Regions from separate parts of the Homo sapiens genome. Here region 1 is linked to region 2. Evidence: promoter capture Hi-C in human tissues and cell types (Jung and others, 2019). All regions are on one chromosome and are shown on one strand. Each heading gives the region's core, a stretch centred on a gene start or on the middle of the fragment in contact. The rest is flanking DNA. Distances are from core to core; before and after follow the strand shown.

Region 1 (6,240 bases), core at 545-3,044, 230 kb before region 2:
GCATGGTGGCGCGTGCCTATAGTCCCAGCTACTCAGGAGGCTGAGGCAGGAGAATCGCTTGAACCCAGGAAGCGGAGGCTGCAGTGAGCTGAGATTGTGCCACTGCACTCCAGCCTGGTGACAGAGTGAGACTCCATTTCAAAAAAAAAAAAAAAAAAAAGGGCCGCGCACTGTGGCTCACGCCTGTAATCTTAGAACTTTGGGAGGCCGAGGCGGGCAGATTACGAGGTCAGGAGATCGAGACCATCCTGAATAACATGGTGAAACCCTGTCTCTCCTAAAAATACAAAAAATTAGCCAGGCATGGTGTCATGTGCCTGTATTCCCAGCTATTCGGAAGGCTGAGTCAGGAGAATCACTTGAACCTGGGAGGCAGAGGTTGCAGTGAGCCAAGATTGCGCCACTGCACTCCAGCCTGGGTGACAGAGTGAGACTCGGTCTCCAAAAAAAAAAAAAAAGAAAAGAAAAGAAATGGCAGGGTGAGATATTCAAATAAAACTTTCAGTTTGCCTTTTACAAAAGACTGAGGATTATTTATCCCAACAAATGCAAAATCATTTCCATAAAGAGTAGAAAATATAAGTGGTAGGAAGAAATATATCAGCTGATTATTTTCTTTAAAACAAGAATCTCAGATCACTCATTTGACATTTCTCTTCAGAGTTTGAAAAGTTCATGACAGCTCACAGCTGATGATGGTGGCAATCTTAAGGATACAGAAAGCTCATTCCTCATGCAGGGAAGAAGAAAATATTCTAAAGAAGAGATAAGCATATTCCATGAAATCAAAAAAGGTAGGAAAACAATATTTATTCATTAACTCCTTCACTCACTCAACGAACATATATTTAGTGCCTACTATGTGTTAGGCATGGTACCAGAATCTGGAATCCAAAATTTAAAAAGTCTCTGTCCTGAAGAGTTTACAAGACAGGGCAGTAAGTAAGTGATCAAAATACCGTATGATAGCAATTAGTACAAGGCATGGAGCTGAGCCTGGATAGTAAAGCAGAGGCCATGTGAATGAGTTTTGTCTTTATTCTGATACAAATGTGAATCCATTGAAAGATTTAAACAAAGAGAATGCCATCTAACTAGTTTCATTCTTAAAAGATCATACTTGTTGTATAGTGAGAACAAATTGAATGGTGAATCAGAGCTGAGATTTTGTTATTTTTATAACTACAAAATCTTGTATAGTTTTCTACACCTATAAAGTACAATGAGTTCACACCCTCTTAAATCTATGTAGCTGTGTGTCCCTCCATGCTATTATTCATCTAGCAGTCTGCCTTCTGCTCCCACTCATTTCCCTACAATGAGTAACAGAACTGCAAGTAGACAAAGAAGGATGGAGAATGAACTTGGCTTCTCTCTTTCAAATGGAAGCTAGCAGAAAAGCTCAGGAACTCACACCTTGAGGAGAGGGTAATATGCAGTGGTTAATAACATAGGATATTGATTTAAAAACCAGTGTTGTCCATTGCTCATTCTATGACCTTAGGCAAACTTGTCAATATTTCTGCTCTTAATATCTTTACTTTATGATGGTAATAAAGTTATTTCTATCTTTTATTTGTCAGACTCAGCTAACTACTATAAGAAATAAATCAAATCTCAGAGGCTTAACACAATAAAAATGTATTTCTGGTTCAAGTTAAGAAAAGGCATTAACTAAAACAATAAGATAAGTTATTATAATATAAAATAGCAGGATAAAAACATTACATAGATAACTTACTATTTTATATACATAAACAATGATTATTTAGGAGATGTAATAACAGAAAAACCCTCATTTATAATAACAACAAAGAACATGAAACACTTAAATAAACTTAAAAGGAAATGTGCAAAAACTGTATGAGGAAAGCATTTCTGAAAGACATAAAACACTGAAGAAGAGCCAAGAAAACACTTAAAAAGAAAAACTAGAAGGAAGAACTAGCCCTATCACACATTAAAACATACTATAAAGTCTTCATAATTAAGAGTGTAGGATGCAGGTGCATGACTAGGCAAACGAACTGATAGAATAAATTAGAAAGCCCAGAAATTGACTCAAGTACATATGGAAATTTAGTATATGATAAGTGACATCACAAAATTGCTGGGGCAAGAAAATTTTAATAGATGGTTCTGGGACAACTGGATAGGTATTGGGAATGAAATAAGTTTAGATCCATATCTCACACCATATACAAGCATAAAGACCCAATGAAAAAGAGATATAATATAAATGTAAAAAAAAATTTTTTTTTAAATAGCAGAAGAAAACATGGGTGAATTTCTATTTAACGTTGGTATAGGGAAAGATTTTCTAACCATGACTCAAAATCCAGAGGCAATTAAAAAAAAAAGATTGACGAGTGGCCACATAAAAATAAAAATTTTAATGCATGGCAAAAACACCATAAACAAAGTCAAACAACAAACAAACTTTAAAAAAATGCTTGCAACATTAATCTTTCTATAATAAAGTATATATTCTGCTAATATATTAAAAACTCCTAAAATTGAAAGAGAAGGGATTTTAAAAAAATATTGAACTAGATAAAGAAACAAGAGTAGATAATTCACAAAAAGATATATAAAAAACCTTGTAAGATAGCAAAAAATGTTTAATATCATTCATAACTAGTGAAATACAAATTAAAACTTTATAGGAATATTATTTTTCACTTATCAGATTGGCAAAAAAATTAAAAATATGGCAGTCATCTGTAGGGAAAGAGATACCCTCACACATTGCTGGTGACAATGTCAAGTGGTACAAGCTTTATAGAGGGAAATTTGGTAATGCCTAAGAAACTACACATACACTTATTTTTTAATTCAGCAATTCCACTTCTAGGAATTTACCCAGAAGATACACCTCCGATAAGGCAAAAATATATTTGCACAGGGTTATTAATTGTGACATTGTTGTTATTGCAAAATATTGGAAACAATGTAAATATCTGAACACAAGAGAGTAGTTAAACAAATTGTGTACCTCTACAGGCTCTAAGAGAAAATAAAATAGAAAAGGATTCCTGTGAACCTATTTGGATTGTTTTTCAGAACACAATCCAAATAGGTTTTTCTTAAGTGAAAAAGAAAAAAGACAAAGTGCAAAAGAATATCTATTATGTGTCAACTTCTATGAAAGAGAGACCAAAAAAAAAAGAAAAAGAAAAAGAAAGAAAACCACAAAAAGGTTAACCCAGGAACTAAGATTGCTTATATACAGGGATAACAGGAAGGAGTTGGGGTGCAGGGGATGATGGGGGTGGGAAAGGAACACTTCTCTGAGTATAACTCTTTCTACAGTTCTGACTTTTAGAAACCATGGTAATGTTTCATTACCAAAAATATAAATAAATGACTAAAATCAAGCAGGGTGAAGGGAGAACCCAAAATTCAATACAAACAATAACAAATGAGCCTAACTCAATTACAAACCACACTGAAGGGGATGAGGAAGAAAAGAATGAACTGAAGACAACTTTGAAATCCAATGTATTATTATATACATGTATTATTAATACAATGTACATATTATATACTCTAAGACCAAAGACCAACAGGAATGTACACAAACATTTTACATTAGTTTGCAAGCTCCCCAGCCCCAAAGAGGCATTGGTTAGTAATTATAAACCCAGTTAATGTTTATTTTAGGATTGTGCAAATAAGTAAATAATATTTGGATAACAAGAGGGAGATTTCTTACTTTTAGAGAAATGAGTTACTAGTAAGGAAAGGAGGAAGGCTAGAATTAACACTGTAATACTGGACTGAAATCAAATGTATTGGTATGAACTGATGGTGATAGATAGATGATAGATAATAGATAATAGATAAGATAGATAGATAGATATAAATAGGAATCAAATGTATGAACTCGTGGTGATAGATAAATGATAGATAGATAATAGATGATACAGAGATAGAGACTTAGATTATGTGTATGTACACATGTTTATTATAAACAGATTTTTATCTAGCTTTGTCTGATGAGAGGGCCTAAAAGTAATGACACCAGTAGCAATGAACACAAAGAGCACCTAGATCTTGCTTTCTAGATGACATTATTTAATAAAAGAAACCAAGGATCCTTGAGAAATGACTGAGCTCATGGCTGGGGCAGGGAAAGTACTGTGTAAGATTATCCTGGAACATCTTGTGCCAGAAAGAAAAGAAGCAGTAAGAACAAAATGGTGGACACATGTTGAAAGGACACAGAAGCCAACTTGAAGGGGCCCCCAGTGGTCAATTGTGAGCCAATTTGAAGAACAAAGTAAATTATGGTAATAATGGAGTATAGCATATAGAATAAAATAAGTATTCATGACTGCATACTGATATACTTCAATAATGAAATAACTAGCAAATGGGAGAGAAGGGAAAGCTCTTCTTTACAGTAGAATTATAATTAACGAGTGTCAAATAAATTATTAAAGTAAAAAAAATCACTAGTTGGCGATGAGTGGGGCAATATATAAGAAACAGGATATTTACATAGTCCTAAAGTCTCTCTCTACGAAGTCCTTATTAAATACAAAAGTAAAAACAGTTCCTTTACAGTGGAGCAGTCTGGCAGACACTACCTTAACCAAGTGTTGAAGGCTAACATCACCAATAATAAGAAGTATTCAACAAAAAGGACCCATGATATATGTACTGAGAAGCCCACAATATCGCTTCTGTGGTAGTCTTACTAAATATGTATAAGCTGAATTTAATCATTATTACCTTAATCATAATCTGGATCTTGGCTATAAAATAGGCATTAATGTGATAATTGGCAAATGTTGAATAAGGTCTGGGGTTAGTTAATAGCATAATATCAATGTTAGTTTCTTGATTTTGAAAATTATACTGTGGTAAAGTAAAATATTAACACTGGGAGAAGTTTGGTAAAAGGTATATGGGAGTTCTGTGTACTGGCAACTTTTTTTAGTCTGAAATTATTTCAAAATAAAAAGGTAATAAAAATATTAAAAAGAAAGAAAAGGTATTTAAAAACATTTCTACCTATGATTACAAAACTTCATTTTAAAAGAGATGACTTAACACCCTCTCAAAATATATTTTCTTCTCAAAATAAAAATGTTGGCCACATGCAGTGACTCATGCCTGTAATCTCAGCATTTTGGGAGGCTAAGGTCAGAGGATGGAGAATAGCTTGAGGCCAGGAGTTCAAGACCAGCCTGGACAACATAGTGAGACCCTATCTCTATAGAAATAAAAATAAAAAACTAACCAGGCATCGTGGTGCACACCTGTAAGTCCCAGATTTGAGAAGGCTGAGATGGGTGGATTGCTTGAGCCCAGGAGTTTCAGACTGCAGTGAGCTGTGATTGCACTAACGCACTCCAGACTAGGCCACGGAACAAGGCCTTGTCTCTTAAAAAAAAAAGTTAAATACTTTCTTAAAAAATACACATGGAAAAACATATTTATTCCATAAATTCTCCCCCAGATCAATATGTTCCTTTGCTCTGACCCATTGTTTTATTTTTTTCTGCTATTGTTCATATTTTCAGAGGATATGACCTGGGTAATGAAGTAATTTTTTTATAAATTAATCCTAGTTATAATTTTACCTCAGTGAATTTGAGCATCTTAGAGTCGAATTTTATGTACAGATATATGTTTTTCTAGGCAACAGATTTAGAGAACTTCATTTCTATTCAAAAAGCCTAGGTATAAAGGCCTGGCATCCTTACTCTATAAAGGATAGGCCTATTTTATAGACCACAAGACTCATCACTACTCAATAGTTACCTCACACTCCTAGTGTCAAACCAGAGCACACACATACACACACATATATACTTGCACATACATACAAACACACATATAATGTATACATATGTGTGTGTATATATACATTTTCAATAACTTGCTAATCATGATGAATGCTGTCTTAACTTTTTTTTCAAACAAAAGTCCTCACATACTTGTTACTGAACCAACCTAGTGCAGGGCACAGAAACAAAGATAAAACATTTTTTCATTAAAACATGTCCCACAGTACAGATAGTGGCAACGTTTCCAAGTTGATATGGTAAGATGCCAGTGACCCCAGTACAGCATGAATCTGAGTGCCATCTCATGTGCAAGTCCTTACAGACCCAGCTGAGTCTTCTCCAATGTCTCCTCTTGGAGTCGTAGGTGCTCTTATTACCAGTTTTCATCTGATTCCACTAGGGAATGGGATGATTTTGCTTTTGTTTCTTGGCCAGAAATCGC
Region 2 (6,657 bases), core at 3,064-5,563:
ATAGGACCAGTTGCTCACCATGAGCATTTTATTTTTATATCTGAATTTTGAACTATCTAAAACCTAGAAATGTTCAATAGTGGGCTGGTGATATGAATGTCAAAAGAGTTGTACTGTTATCTGCAGCCAGTAATCATAAAGTTCCATGCAAATGAACTGCAAGTGAAATAGATATTGATCATCTCTAGCTGACAACATGTGATCCAGTAACTACTTCCGGGTTATACCAGAGTTCATCTTTAAGTTTTTCTTTCTGGTGATACAAAACAACACCCACCAAGGATAACTCAAATATAATCCAGGTAATGAGATTTGGTAATATAGTACATAAGTATTCCATCATTGGAATTGCAATATTTCCCCAACCCAAATACTCCTATTAAACCTACCAGGGAAGGCTACTGTAAATTTTAAAGGAATAATTTAGTACTTTGCTCTTGATATGTGAAAATTTTCACCTAATTCAGCATGTAATCAACAAATCCAACCAGAGTCATACCCTATTTGGTAAAATATAATTATCTGAAAAAAAGTTACCATCACAAATTAAAATGTCTTTGCAACTTTAGCAGAGTAAGCATCTTTTAATAACTCTGGTATCCATTAAAAATTGTCAACAGAAATAAAACAGGTACACTGATAAGAGCATTTAAAAATCCCATGCACAAGCTAACAATTTATAAAGAGCTGTAGTAATCCTTACTATTACCTTTAATGTATTAAGATACAAAATACATAATTACTGGATTCTTCAAATGATTTAAAGCAATCAATATCATATGTTTTGCTTTTTTAAAATTATTCCCAAGGTTTGGGGCAGAGGAAACTTTCAGAAGAACACAAACCAATGTTTTATTGTTGGCATAATTTCAAATATTAAGTGCACACATTAAGCAAGTAGGCTGTGTGCCAAAATTCTGTGTAAATCAGCTGTTCAGAACACAGACAGCATTTAACTCTGCAGCAGCACTACCAATGCAGCATTCATTGCTCAATCAACCCCTCAGAATCCTGTTTAGCCTATAGCATCATACTAACCTAAGCATTATCCCAGAGTACCGCCTCCAGGAAACAGAATGGGCCATTTCCTTCTGTCTCCCGATCGTGGAAGAAGCCTTGGATCAGTTTTAAAATATGTCAAGGTTCTGCGGAAAGCTTTCTAAAGCTCAGAGCGTGCAGAACGGAAGGCCCCCTCTCACAGTCCCCCCTTTCAAGAAGGGACTTGACCAATTGTGACTTGATCACTACTGCTCTGAATCCCCAGAGCTTTGTTTTACTTATTTTTCCCACAACAACCTCAATAGTACGGACGGCAGGGGAAATACGGCAAGTATAATTAGTTTCAATAGGTTGACCATTTATACATTGATTACATTTAGTGTCCGTTTTTATTAACAAAATATCATATTTAAATTAATGTTGTTTACTTCATGTTTTATAACTTCTGTCTGCTAAGCCCTCTCCCAACCACTGATTCAGAGATTCATAGAGTAGGTGCTCAGTTAATTTGTATTAAACAGACAGATACCAGTTTCTGCTGCCAGAAATATAAAATTATGTTTGGCTGAAACATTATAGACACCAGGCCAGTTACCTTTTCCCTAAATCAATGTCTGCAGTCTTTCTAACGCTCAGGCCAATCCTGCCGCTTTATGTTTCACGGGGGAGCTTGCTTTACCCCAGGGCATAAACTGCACAGCTTGTAAGACAACTGATGCTCACACTGATAGGCTTGAGGTGGGAGCAGGGAAGAAGGAAAGCGCGGAGTTACGTGTTGCCTAGCGAGATTGATGAGATGATGTGTTCGTATTTGGCCACAGGAGGGAGCCAGACCCTTTGGGAAGCAGCAACAACCAACCAGAGCGGCGCCACACTGTCCCACCCACTTTAGGAAAACTTCACCAGAAACAAACCAAGAAAAACCAGAGTTCCTAGACATATCCAGGTTTCCTAAGCTTTTCATCTAGAATATTGTTCGTTTTAGGTTATAACTGTCGCTATGTGTTCTCTAGCTATTTGGGTCAACAAAACCAAATTAGTAATGAAAACCTGACATGGATTTGGGGGTTCTGACCAGACACTCTGTACTGTATCAGGCAAGGATTTAACAATGCAACTTAAATTTAAGAGACTATTTATAGTTACACATGTACTTTCTTCATAAGGTTGTCTTATAGGTTTAAGCATAGAACAAAATTTCAGGCACCAGAACTGGCCCAGAGAATTCTCCCTGTGTTTTGCAAAGAGGTATCAATTTGTAATTTCTTTTTATCAGTGTTGTAATTTTAATAAAATATGAGAGTTTATAAAAAAACATGCAATCCAAACCTAAGTAAGGGTATAACAAACACAAACTAAGCAAAGAAATAGAGAACTTAAATTTGGTGGTTTTTTTTTTTTTTTTTTGCTTGTTTTTTTCTTTTTAACCTAGCCGATCTACTCACACTCATAAAATGCCTCATGTACTCTGGGCTGAAATTTGGGTTACGGAGCACTTTAGTTGACCACAAGAAAAAAACATCTTAACTCTTAAAAAATAAACACCCCCCCCCTCTAATGGCCCAGTGTTTAAGTCTCAGTGACCATGATGCCCAGGATGAAGAGCTCCTTTCCAACTGGCTTCCCAAGGATTGCAATAAGGCTCCCAACCCAACCTTTGTACCATCTGCAAGCTACAACTGCAGGAGGCTGGAGAAAGCATACTTGGACCCCAACCAAGGGCACAGAAAAGCTTCAATATTCCCCACAGAGGCAACTCGACTAACATTGCACAGATTCTGGCTCAGTGTTTTTGTTTTGTTTTGTTTTGTTTTGTTTTGTTTTGTTTTGTTTTGTTTTCTGCACTGGTCTTTATTGCTGTGGAATTTTTCATAGAAATGTGATCACTTTTACCTTCTTAATTAATTCTCCACTGCTTGCTATGACAGTGACCATACTGAGGCATCAAATAATTTAGGTACCAAAGAAGGCATGTCTATCCCTTTTTAAGTTTTTTACTGAGATTATGCCTTAAAAGGGGCACAAATATTTTTTTAAAAACATAAGTAAATAAGAAAAAGGGCATCAGTTAGTTATTATTGTTATGGGAAAGAAGGAAGGAAGGAAAGAGAGAGAGAAAGAAAGAAAAGGAAGTAAAGAAAGAAGGAAGGAAGGAAAAGAAAGAAAGAGAGAGGGAGGGAAGGAGGGTGGAGGAAGAGAAAGGGGAGAGGGAGGGAGGGAGAGGGAAGGAAGGGAGGGAGGGAGGGAAGAAGGGAGAGAGGGAGAGAGGGAGGAAGGGAGAGAAAGAGAGACTTAGAATAGTGTTTGGCACAAAGTTGGTACTCAAGAAATATTAAATGGATGAATGGATTACTTGGGAATCACATAATGAGAGAATGATTTTAAAGTATTTATTTGAAAACCATGTCATGTTACTTTAGCTCTCTTCAGTGTGTTTTATGAGCCATTCTTTAAGAAATAATAAATAGCAGCATTCTGAGTAATGTACAGTTATTTAATGCTATTTCCCTGGTGATGACCTCTCCATTTGGACTACAAGCCAACAATTACAAAGCTCGTTTTACTCACCCTTTGGTGTGAGACAGATTCTTACATGCTGACTTCTAAACAGGTTTCTAGGATCAAATGCACAGTATTTGTTGTGTATACTTACACAGTGGCTCAATTTCTGCCTAAGGCTATGAAAGTCCTCCACAAAGCGTATTTTCTTGCAGCCTTGCAATTGCAGTTGACCAAAAACGTCTTCCATGAAGAAGGACAGAAGCTGTTCTTGAAATTGACAGTTTTTCTAAAAATAAGATACAAGAAATTGCATATGGTAAATTATGAATCGTTTTTTAATGTCCCCCGATCATTACTTAATTACTCTCTGAAAAAAATTTAAATGCAGGGGGAAATAAACATCAAATAAGTGGAAATGTAAAAAAGAAGAAGACTTTCTGACTTACCATAAACTGCTTTTTTGTTTTCTTTTTTAATAATCGTATATTTTTTATGCGGTCTTCCTACAATAATACAAAGAGAAATAAGTTGTATCCAAGATTGTAAATGTCCTTGAGGTCATGATTTTAAGCAGAGCCTAATACTTACTGGAATCGTTGCTTTGAGCCATGCTGCTTTGATATAGAGAGCGTCAACAGCTTGGGACAATGTTCCCCTTGGGTAACAACTTTTGGTGAAGGAAGATTGCTTGTGCTTGGCAATGGCAAGAGACAGAGTGACTAACAGCAACCCACACCTCAAAATGAAATTCACCAGCATTTCCCTTCACCCCACTCAGCGTGTGTCACTCACAGCAGCCCAAGAGATACTAATGCCGGTTAGATGAGAGGATAACCTACTTAATGTAGCCCTCAAAGCCACCAGTCCAATGAGGTGCTGTGAAAGATAATTTACAGTTTATATAGAGGAAGATCACTTTGGTTGTTCTATTTTTTTAAGAGCTTGCTTCATAGTCAAAAAACGCTGATCACACCATCAACTGACATTATTTAAAAGCTCAGCCTTACTGGTAAGATTGCGTTCTCATTTCCAAAAGAATTCAGAATTTCAGTTGCCTATCACAGCAGCTTGCATTATTTTAAAAGGCATGCCAATAAAAACAGGATGATTTCCAGGGGGCTGTGTCATAATTTTTTAAACCCCATGTGAAAAATCTCCTTTTCTAACCAGAATCCCAGAAAAAATTTAACAAGGGGGTAGAAATGGGCAGCCCCAGGAAATCTGCTCACGATTCAAATGGGTCTTGTGTTTATTGCTTGCCACATCCTTCACCCAGCTTCCCCCAGAGGCCATTATTCTGCAGATAGCAGCGAGAACATTTCCAGTGCAGAAACAGTAACTCCCCTTAACATATTCAAGATATGTTTGGAACTGGACCTGGGACTAAGGTCCACAATGTAATAAGTTCTCTGTCATCTCTGTCCAAATTTACCACTCAGACTTTCCTTATAACTCCCAACTTCCAGGAGAGTGCAAATTCCTTGAAGAAAGAGACCGTATATTTTCACCTTTGAATACAGCATCTACCATGGCACCTCATCTAAAGAAGTGCATCCATTATTAATTGAGTAAATACTTTTGTCACATCATGACGTGCTACCATAACTGCTTTATTTTTTAAATTTCTTCCATTCACACATTTTTATTAAAGACTTGCCTACACAAAAACCAGTGCTAGGTATGAGGGAGCCACCAAGGAGGATTCTCCATAAACTCCCATCCTCATTTCTGTCCCAGTTCTTCCTAGACAGTAAATATGGCTCATTCTGGGTAGCAGCCCCAATATAAGAAGAGGGCAGCCCAGAGTCATATTCTGAGAAGCAGAGATAGGTCACTAAAGCCTAGAATGAATAGAGTTAATGTGTATCAGGGATAAGTCAACACTAGAAATCTGGTTGTGAGTTAAGAGAGTCATCAAAACTAGTCAGTCAATAACAAGCATCAGAACCCAAGACTAAATTCCAAATGAAAGCAAGCAGGGCTGTCAAAAAAACAAAAAAAAAACAAAAAAAAAACAAAAAAAAAACAACCAAGAAGAAAAAGGGAAAATAAGAAAAATGCTTGGACTGATGTCTGCTGTTTCAAAACATGAGTGGATCTCTTGGAAGAATCCAAGCCTTATTTCCCCAGGAGCAAGATCACTGGTAACGACACACCCTATCAATTGAGATGAGAACTATTCACAAAAAAACTATAGCAGAAGTCAGCTGACTGGGAGTGCTGAGTGAAGTTCACTGAAATTTTATGAAATTCAGAAAAAGAAAGAAGTCGTTTCAGTTGGGAGTGGCTGAAAGGATGTTTGAACTAGGACATGAAATACACAAAGGGATTTATTTATTTATTTATTTATTTATTTGAGCAGAGGAATGCCTAGTATTATAAGTTCCTTTGGAAAGAAACAGTGTGAACTTGGAGGGATCAAAAGCTCAAATGCCCTTAGAGGGCGAGGATTAATACAAACACACTGGGTGGGTAGATACCAGATAATTGCGGCTAATATGCTTATATGGTCACCAGTCTTAAAGTCTGTCTAATCACATAGCCTGTTAACACACTGTGCTATAAACACAGAGTGCAATAAAAGGATGACACAAAACACCTCCCAGAGCCATATACTGCCGTGAGCAGCCAATTTCAGATCCCTGGTGTGTACCAACAAAACTTGTGGCTAATATTGATAACTCAAGTGGCTAATATTGATAAATTAAGTTGATGTGGGTTCTGGCTATTTTTTAACTTCTGGTAGTTACATTTCCATAAATACCTTACATCCCTCAAATCATCATCACACAAGGAAAATCCATATATAGTCCTAGAATGCCTCTGCTTTGGTTTGCAGCCAACTCAAGAAAACTGTGGCCATTTCTGTATGAATGACCATATCACCCACTGGATCACAGTCATCCTCCATCTTAGTCAGCAAACCTGCCTCATTAGGGTCCTTTGATAAGCAGGAAGATCTGATCTCAAAGAGTAAATAGTGGCCACTAAAAAGGACGTTCAAAACATGGGCCCTGAACACAGTTCCAAAGAGGAGCCCCCAAAGTGTCCTAAATAACAGAAGAGCCATTAGAATAAATGCATAATACTGTAGGAGCACCAACTGAAAAGATAATTCTCTGCTTCACTGAATGTATATTTATTATATCGCTTTCA

Evidence for each region. The method cuts DNA at HindIII sites, captures the fragments that hold promoters and counts their contacts. A contact is called where the count stands out against the background at its distance.
Region 1: a contact is called between a fragment that was not itself captured here and the fragment with the promoter of IL26 in region 2, in 1 of the 25 tissues and cell types used here (hippocampus).

What each region holds. Positions count from the first base shown.
Region 1 is chr12:67,995,280-68,001,519 of GRCh38, forward strand. It overlaps IFNG-AS1 (IFNG regulatory antisense RNA 1), which reads left to right. Exons shown (of 4, transcript NR_104125.3): 2 at 662-794. It also overlaps the pseudogene RPL39P28. Among named protein-coding and RNA genes, the nearest start is that of IFNG-AS1, 9.0 kb to the left of the region's middle. The HindIII fragment of the contact is 7,498 bases long and covers 1-5,543 here.
Region 2 is chr12:68,221,497-68,228,153 of GRCh38, forward strand. It overlaps IL26 (interleukin 26), which reads right to left and starts at 4,314. Exons shown (of 5, transcript NM_018402.2): 1 at 4,090-4,314; 2 at 3,948-4,004; 3 at 3,653-3,787. The coding sequence starts at 4,260. The HindIII fragment of the contact is 9,012 bases long and covers 2,344-6,657 here.